2 separate regions of the Homo sapiens genome follow, and region 2 is linked to region 1. Evidence: promoter capture Hi-C in 16 types of primary human blood cells and fetal thymus (Javierre and others, 2016). All regions are on one chromosome and are shown on one strand. The core of a region is centred on a gene start or on the middle of the fragment in contact, and the rest is flanking DNA. Distances in the headings are between cores, read along the strand shown.

Region 1 (4,207 bases), core at 729-3,228:
ACTGAGATGTGATCACTGGTCAATTTGAGTAGTTTATGCTTTAACCTCTTAACGACTTAGACACTTCCTCTCTGTATTTTTAGGAATACTACTTGTTTTAATATTAGGTGAAAACAAATAATTAGGACTCTTATTTGCTGCAATCAACATCACCACTATTCCAAAGAAAAAATAAAACTAATGTCTAGTTTAATTGCATCTTGCTCATTTGAGTGCTGACAGTACCTTGGATTAGCGACTCTCAAGATTATTTAACATGACACACAGGAACCAATAAATTTTTAATTACAACCGAGCACACACGCACAGGCACATACGCACACTTAAAAGATTTTTCACAAAACAATACTCTCATTACATGTAATGCAGTCTGATATTTTCTATGCGATCTTACTTTTTTTAATGCTAGTCACGACCCACTAAATTTCACAATGCACACGCGCACAGTTAAAATATTTTTCACAAAACAATACTCTCATTACATATAATGCATTCTGATTTTTTTATGCGATCTTATTTTTTTTTAAATGCTAGTCATGACTAAATTAATTTCACCATTCACGAACCGGCTGAAAAAACTCAGTTTGAAAAAACACTGCCTCCAATTATTATGCAGAGTAAACCATATTTTATAGAAACCAGTTCTTACCCTGAATTCAGCTTATTTCTATCCAAATCACTGGCCACTGCAGTGATACTTTATCAACTCTCTAACGAGTTGCTTTCTTGCCTTCTAGGCTTTAGGTTCAAACGATAGAGAAAAGGTCTTCCACGTATTAAGTGAAAAAAGCAAATAAACACCCCTTATGTAACACACGTATATATGTTTGTGTATTAATTAAAAAGGAAGGAAAGATACCCCCCAAATTGTTAGCAGATTCTCTCGAGGATGAGATCGCTACAGGCTGCCTCCATCGTCCCTCCCCCTCCCCACACGTAGCATATTGCTGTAAAAAAGAAAAACAAAAACAAGCTATTTCCTTTAGGTGGGGGTGGGGTTTTGGTCCCTTGAGAACCAGTATCTTGTTATGCATTTTTTTCACGAGCTACCAAGAATCATCGCGTGAGATAATCGCAGGAGCTGGTAAGGCCCTTCTTAGGAGCAAGTAAAAACGATGGCGTAACACGACCACATTTACACAACTGTTGCACGGCGGTAGTAAAAGAATCATTAACACAAAAATCAAACGTTTTCAAATAAACTATAATCGCCCGAGGCTGGGAAAGGCCTAGGTCTGGGGCCAGCTGGACCCAACGCAGGGCACTGGGGGAAGGGGGTGTGTGGACAGGTGGCTCGGGATCTCGGCCCCACAGGTGCCCAGGGGCAAGACTCCGCGGGTTCCCGGCCCTCAATCCGACCCCGCAGACCGCCCCCTCCCCAAGCCCGGACCCGAGGCCTCGTCCGCCGGCCCCTCTGACCCAGGGCCCCGGACAGAAGCGCAATGCAGCCTGCGCCCCACCTCCTTCCCTCGCCCCGCCACCTCGATCCCGGCCCGGAGCCGCCGACACCTCTCACGCAGCAGGGGCAGAAAGGGACGCGGGGTGGGGGGAAGCCGAGGACCTGCGAGGCGGCCGCGGGAGCCCAGCGAGCGGTCCTGGCGTCCCTCGGGAAGAAGGCGCCCCGGGCGCCCGGCGAGCAGGCCCCGCCCGCGGGCGTCGCCCCGGCCGCGCCCCGCCCCCGCCGCGGCACTCACCTCCGCGGAGGCTGCCCGGATTCCTTCCGGGCCGCGGTGGAGACCGAGGACCGAGCCGGGCGCTCTCCCTTCTTATTCCGGTTCCGCGGCGGCGCCCGAATCCCAGACCGTCCGAGCGCCACGGCCCCGCTGCCCGCGGAGCCAGAAATAGGCGACTTCGGCCCCTGCGGTCCGGAGGCGAGAAGCGGCGCGGGAGCGCGTCTCTCAGGACGCGGGCCCCGAGTCGCGACTCCACTCACGCAGGCATCCAAGGCAACGTGGCGTTGCAACCCTGATGGAGGTTTGACGTCAGGGAAGGTGCGAAAACCAGACCCCTTCTGACGCAGGAGCGGCGGGACCGCCCCCTGCCCGCCCACCCACTCACTCACTCTCCCACCCGGGCGGAGGAGCCCCTTCCTCCCCTCCAGAAGCTCTTAAAGCGGACACTTCCTCCCTGGTCAGGGCCCCACTCCGGAGCTTGGGAAATCTATCGCGTTCCAACAAAAATGACTAGACTCATAAGCACAGTTGGGACGCGAAGTAGAGACCAAGGTTTTAGCGTTTGAGGGTCCAAATAAAAACTGCTTGCCAATTCAAAGCAACGTATGAATGTAGAAAAGAAAACGGGGCTAAGAGAGCTAGTCGTTTCCGTTTCCATGCCTATTTCATAGTGAGGTGCATCTCACAAAAGCTGCTGTTCAATGAGCGCTTGCTCTGTGCTAGGCACCGTTTAAGGTTTCTATACATTATTGCATTTCATTTCAGAGTAACTCTGAATGAATCCTATTATTGTCCCCCTTTGACAAATTGAGAAAACTGAGGCTTAAGGAAGTTAGGTATTCAAAGATCTATCCTGCACATTAAAGGGTTACAAATATTAACAAACAACATTAGGTCATGCAATTATATTCACTGCGCTACCCCATTACGAATATAGTTGTGAGCAAAAACAGTTTAAGTGTAACGGAGATCACAAACCTAAATGAATCACACTACTGAATATGAAATTATAATCTGCGATAAGAAGGTTCTGAAACACCTAAACCAATTTTACTAAAATGGAGAGAGGCCCTGTTGCAAAGCTTATGTCTAATGTAAAAATAATCTTAAAATGAGCTACTTTGCTCTTTGGCTGTAGCTGTAATTGTCGTTACCCTTTTTAGTAAGCTTGTGATTTTGTCCCTTTAAAGAACAACAACAAAAAAACTTGCCTATTGCTTTTGCGTCCATTGTTTTTATTCTTTCTGTATTTCTCAGCTCCTTCTTCCCCCACTACATCTTTCTCTCACTTTAAAGTTGGGCTCCTGCAACTGTTCGATTTATAACCTCCCTTAGATTTAACATACCAAAAAGTACGGATTTCTTTTAAGGCAAGTTTTTTCCACATCCCAACTTTGGAATTATAGAAAATCCACTATACATTGATCGAAGCACCATGACATTATGTATTTCACAGATGCTAAGCCATGTTTTTCCCCACATTTTAACATCTGTGAAATCAAGATGCATCTTATAAACTCTCGTTGACCGGGTGGCAGTACAGACCTGGTTGTCATTACCTCCACGTATTACAACGTGGATGTTGCTGTGCAGGTTGTCCTCATTTCAACTGAGATAAGTGCATTGTTTAATAAAACCCATAACCCTAGGAGGAAGGGAATTAACAGACAAAAGTCACTCAAACTTGGAGAGAGATTTTCCTAGGGAAAGAGGGAAGATTTGCCTGGAGAAGATTTTCCTAGGACCAAAAAGAGATTTCCCCAGCATTTAGAAAAGAAAGAGATGGGACTGGCTAAGAACTAGTAGTCTTCTGGGAGCCCTGAGTTACTTACCAAGTACATTCATTCTTGATGGATTTTGGGAACCCATATATGAACAGTTAAATACTAAGCCTACTTGCACCCCCCAAAAATGAAATAACTTCGATATTATTCTTGATAGCCTGATTAGTCAGTTACAACCCCTACAGCTTTTATTCAATAACACCATTGAAGGAGGAAAACAAGTCCTGAATGTTTTGCGTGAAAACACAAAATTGACATATTCAGGTGAGATCAAGAAGGTGCCAGCATCAAAACTTGCAGAATAAGATCAGCTGCTTGGAAGAAAATCCTGCATACAATAGTGCAGCATTCTTCCTTCCTTTCTCTCCCTCTCTGTTTTTTGTTTTTGTTTTTGTTTTTGTTTTGAGACAGGGTCTCCTTCTGTCACCCAGGCTGGAGTTCAGTGGCGCAAACACGGCTCACTGCAGCCTTGACCTCCCAAGCTCAAGCGATCTTCTTGCCTTAGTCTCCAAAGTGGCTGGGACCACAGGCGTGTGCCACCATGCCTGGCTAATTTTTTTACTTTTTGTAGAGATGGGGGTTCTCACTTTTTTGCCCAGGCTGGTCTCGAACTCCTGGCTTCAAGGGATCCTCCCACATTCACCTCCCAAAGTGCTGAGATTACAGATATGAGCTGTAACTGTGCCCAGCTGGAGCATTCTTAAAGTTAGATGCATCACCAACACTTTTGGTGGAAAGCTACAGCCATGG
Region 2 (4,207 bases), core at 1,158-3,657, 1.8 Mb before region 1:
CAGGAGGCTGAGGCAGGAGAATCACTTGAACCCAGGAGGCGGAGGTTGCAGTGAGCCGAGATTGCGCCACTGTACTCCAGCCTGGGCAACAGAGCCAGACTCCATCTCAAAAAAAGAAAAAAAAGGCAAAAGAAGATGATGGAGCTGCTTTTAGCAGACAACCTTTTGAATGGAGATATGAACTTAAATATTTTACATTTAGAGAGGCAAAATGTTCCTAGCTGACATACAGAGGCCTAGCTGACATATAGAGCTCCTAGCTGACATACAGAGGTCCATGAGCCAGTGGCTGCCTAGCTGAGATTATTCTCAGCCCTAAATCTTTCAGCCTTTTTCTGGGATCATCCCCTTAATTCTGGTGCTGAGGATCTGTATTAGTGAGAGTGAATAAAATCAGTCATTTTGCAAACACAGCTTTTTTTGTTTTTTTTTTTTTTTTGAGATGGAGTCTTGCTCTATCTCCCAGGCTGGAGTGCAGTGGCATGATCTCAGCTCACTGCAGCCTCCGCCTCCCAGGTTCAAGTGATTCTCTGCCTCAGCCTCCGAGTAGCTGGGATTACAGATGTGTGCCATGACACCCGGCTAATTTTTGTATTTTTTAGTAGAGACAGAGTTTTGTCATGTTGGCCAGGCTGGTCTTGAACTCCTGTCCTCAAGGGATCCGCCTGCCTTGGCCTCCCAAAGTGCTGGAATTTCAGGCGTAAGCCACTGTGCCAGGCCAAAAGCAGTTTTTTAAATGCATTTTATGTCCCAGACTTCATGCTTAATCCATGAAAAACAATGACAAATCACAAACTCCTGACATCAGACTTCAAGACTAGTCTGAAAGAGTTTTTCTCAAAGGATGGTCCATGGATCACCAACTTGGGAAGCACTGAGGACCTTGTAGAAATTATGGAATTCAGGACCCTAATGTAGGTAGATCTTCAGAATAAAAATCTGTGAATGTGTGATCCAGGAATCTGCGGGGGTTTTTTTGTTTTTTGTTTTTGTTTTTGTTTTTTTTTTTGAGATGGAGTCTCACTCTGTCGCCCAGGCTGGAGTGCAATGGCATGATCTCGGCTCACTGCAACCTTTGCCTCCTGGGTTCAAGCAATTCTCCTGCCTCAGCCTCCCAAGTAGCTTGGACTACAGGCACCAGCCACCACATCCGGGTAATTTTTTGTATTTTTCGTAGAGACAGTGTTTCGCCATGTTGGCCAGGCTGGTCTCAAACTCCTGACCTCAGGTGATCCGGCCGCCTCAGCCTCCCAAAGTACTGGGATTACAGGCATGAGCCACCACACCCGGCCTAGGAATCTGCATTTTTAACAGCATTCAAGAACCTTGACACTCAAAATGCAGCATCACTTAGGAGATCATGACTGTTGGAGAGGCCCCATCCCAGACTTACTGTATCAGATTCTGCATTTTGACAGAATTCTTACCCGTTAAAGTTTGAGAAACACCATCCTAGAAGATTCTGTTCCATGTGAATTTTGAGAACCACCAATCCAATGGAAGACTGATCTGTGTAGCACAATGTAATGGGTACATTTATAAAGGAACACATGAGATCCTCTAGGAGTGCATAAAAGGAGCAGGTTCCCCTATCAGGCAAGGTTTCCAGAAGAGGTGTGATGTCATCTGCTTTTTTTTTTTTTTTGAGACAGCGTCTCGCTCTTTTGCACAGGCTGGAGTGCACTGGCTCAATATCAGCTCACTGCAACCTGCGTCTCCTGAGTCCAAACGATTCTAGTGCCTCAGCCTCCTAAGTAGCTGGGATTACAGGTCGTGTGCCACCATGCCTGGCTAATTTTCGTTTTAGTAGAGACAGGGTTTCACTATGTTGCCCAGGCTGGTCTCGAACTGCTGGCCTCAATCAATCCACCCGCCTCGACCTCCCAAAGTGCTGGGATTACAGGCGTGCACCGCCATGCTCTGCTAATTTTTGTATTTTTAGTAGAGATGAGGTTTTATCATGTTGGTCAGTCTGGTCTCGAACCGCTGGCCTCCAGCGATCCACCCGCCTTGGCCTCCCTAAGTGCGTGGATTACAGGCACGAGCTACCACACCCGGCCTTTTTTTTTTTTTTTTTTAGAGTGAAAGTTTATTAAAAAGCTTTAGAGTAGTAATGAAGGGAAGGAAAAGAAGAAAAGAACACTTGGAAGAAGACCAAGCAAGTGACTTGAGAGACCAAGCACCTGTTACCTGCTTCTTAAAGAGCAAAGAGAAATTAGCCAGCCTAAGTAAGAGGATGGGCCAGGAGTGAGAACTCTCATCAGAGGGAATCACATGTACAAAGTCCTGAGGCAAAAGAGAATACTGCAAATATTCTCTTTTGGTAATTAAAACAAAACAAAACAAAAAATGTACCTCTGGCCAGGTGAGGTGGCTCACACCTGTAATCCCAGCACTTTGGAAGGCAAGGAAGAAGGATTGCCTGAGGCCAGGAGTTCAGGATCATCCTGGGCAACACAGGGAGACCTTGCCTTTACAAAAAAAAAAAAAAGAGAAAGAAAGAAAAAAGAAGTTAGCCACGTTGTGGTGATGCGTGCCTGTAGTCCTAGCTACTCAGGAGGCTGAGTTGGGGGGATCCCTTGAACCCAGGAGTTCAGGGCTGCAGTGAGCTATGATCGTGCGACTGCACTCTGGCCGGGGCACAGAGTGAGATCCTGTCTCTAGCAAAACAGAAAAAAAAGTACCTCAAATTGCAGGGTTTAAAGAAAGCTTATTTAAACTTTGAATATCAACCAAAGGAAATTTTTTCTTAACTCAAAGCTTAAAGATTTGCTTATTAATCTTCTGGAGGGTGGGAAGGTGGGAAGAGGAATCAGAGTTTTAGATTTCTGTTTCATCCCTGACCCCTTTGACCTTTTTTTTTTTTTATCATTCCTTTGTTCATTCATTTATTCAGATATATATACATTGGGCCTGTGCTAGGTGCCTACTAGATGGTGGTGAGTGAAACTGAAATAGTGCCTGCCCTCAGGGAGTTTATAGGTGAGATGGGTGAGCGTGGGAAAACCAATAAAACTGATAAATAAGTGTGTACTTATAAAGTGAGAAAATGGCTAAGAAGTGTGCTATGATGGAAAACAGACAGGAAACTGCAAGGAAGGTCTGTCCAATCAGACCAGCATATCCCTGCAAAGCGACCACAGTCACTGCAGGTGGGATGTGGGCGGTCTTACCAGGCAGTCCTGCCCGCGTGCACACACACGCACACCCTATTTTGCTGGGAATCCGCAAGTGGGGGTGAAGACCTCACCTCAAAACCACCCCTTTTCAACCTGCGTAGGAAAGGACAGTGAAAACGGATTTTCACTGCAGCCCCAAAACCGGAAATGAGAAGCAATCTCCAGAATAGTCCCACTTTTGGAAAGAACTTATTTGAGTAATTAATTCCCTTAGACAAGGGAGCTGCTAAAAACCAGCCCGATCCTGACATGTTCTAAGTGACATTTTCCAATCGCAAACACCCATTTTGGCGTTGGGTGGAGCAGTGAGGAGACTCCACGACACACGCCATTGCTTTCACAATGTGTACAAGAGGAACTGTATATAAGAAAGCAAAGAAATAAGGAGGCCTGGCGGGTGCGGTCAGGCCTTGCCTAGCTGCCGGGTCCCTCGGGCAGGAAAGACTCGTCCTCGCGGCCTGGAACCTTGTGTGTCCGGCTCTGGCTGCCCGGGCCGCCGGCGGAAGCATTTCAGAGTGGGACCGCGAGAAGCCGCTTGTAAACAGAGCCGGGCCGGGATGGTCAGCGCCCGGGCGGGCTGTCACCGTGAGGCGGGCGGCAGGCTGCGGGAGTCAAGCCCCTCCAGGAGCGGACTGAAGGCCCCGCAGGTGAATGGAGAGTAGCAGCCGGGGCCCAGGTGAGCATCCGTCTGCTTCTGTGCTGCCTGGCCGGCCAGTTTGGGGGATGGGGTGGGGACGACTGCATTGTAAATATCCGAGCAGCTCCCAGGGATAGCAGTGATTTTGCTGTTTCTTGCATGCTCAGGTTTTTATTACGTGCTGGAGATTGTACCACACTGCAATGGCTAATGGGTGAGGGGAGATTACATGATGCATTGTCTGCTTATTTTTGTGAATCAGGTATGTAATAGGAGGAGAAAGTAGTTGAAATAGTAGGTGATCTTGTTGAGTGCGTTATTAGTATCCCTGCCATCCCCGCCTGGGGATTATAAAACCAAACCCCAGCAGAGCTTTTAACCTACATCAGGC

What was found. Contacts are between HindIII fragments. The CHiCAGO score rates a contact against its expected background, and 5 or more counts as called.
Region 2: a fragment that was not itself captured here is called in contact with the fragment with the promoter of ZDBF2 in region 1 in 1 of 17 cell types (total CD4 T cells); the score reaches 5.3 in total CD4 T cells.

The regions. Positions count from the first base shown.
Region 1 is chr2:206,272,434-206,276,640 of GRCh38, reverse strand. ZDBF2 (zinc finger DBF-type containing 2) reads right to left here and starts at 1,978. Exons shown (of 5, transcript NM_020923.3): 1 at 1,695-1,978. RefSeq lists an enhancer at 1,121-1,620 and silencers at 1,284-1,743, 2,024-2,083. The HindIII fragment of the contact is 6,855 bases long and covers 1-2,757 here.
Region 2 is chr2:208,025,037-208,029,243 of GRCh38, reverse strand. It overlaps PLEKHM3 (pleckstrin homology domain containing M3), which reads left to right and starts at 3,717. Exons shown (of 8, transcript NM_001080475.3): 1 at 3,717-3,855. The HindIII fragment of the contact is 609 bases long and covers 2,103-2,711 here.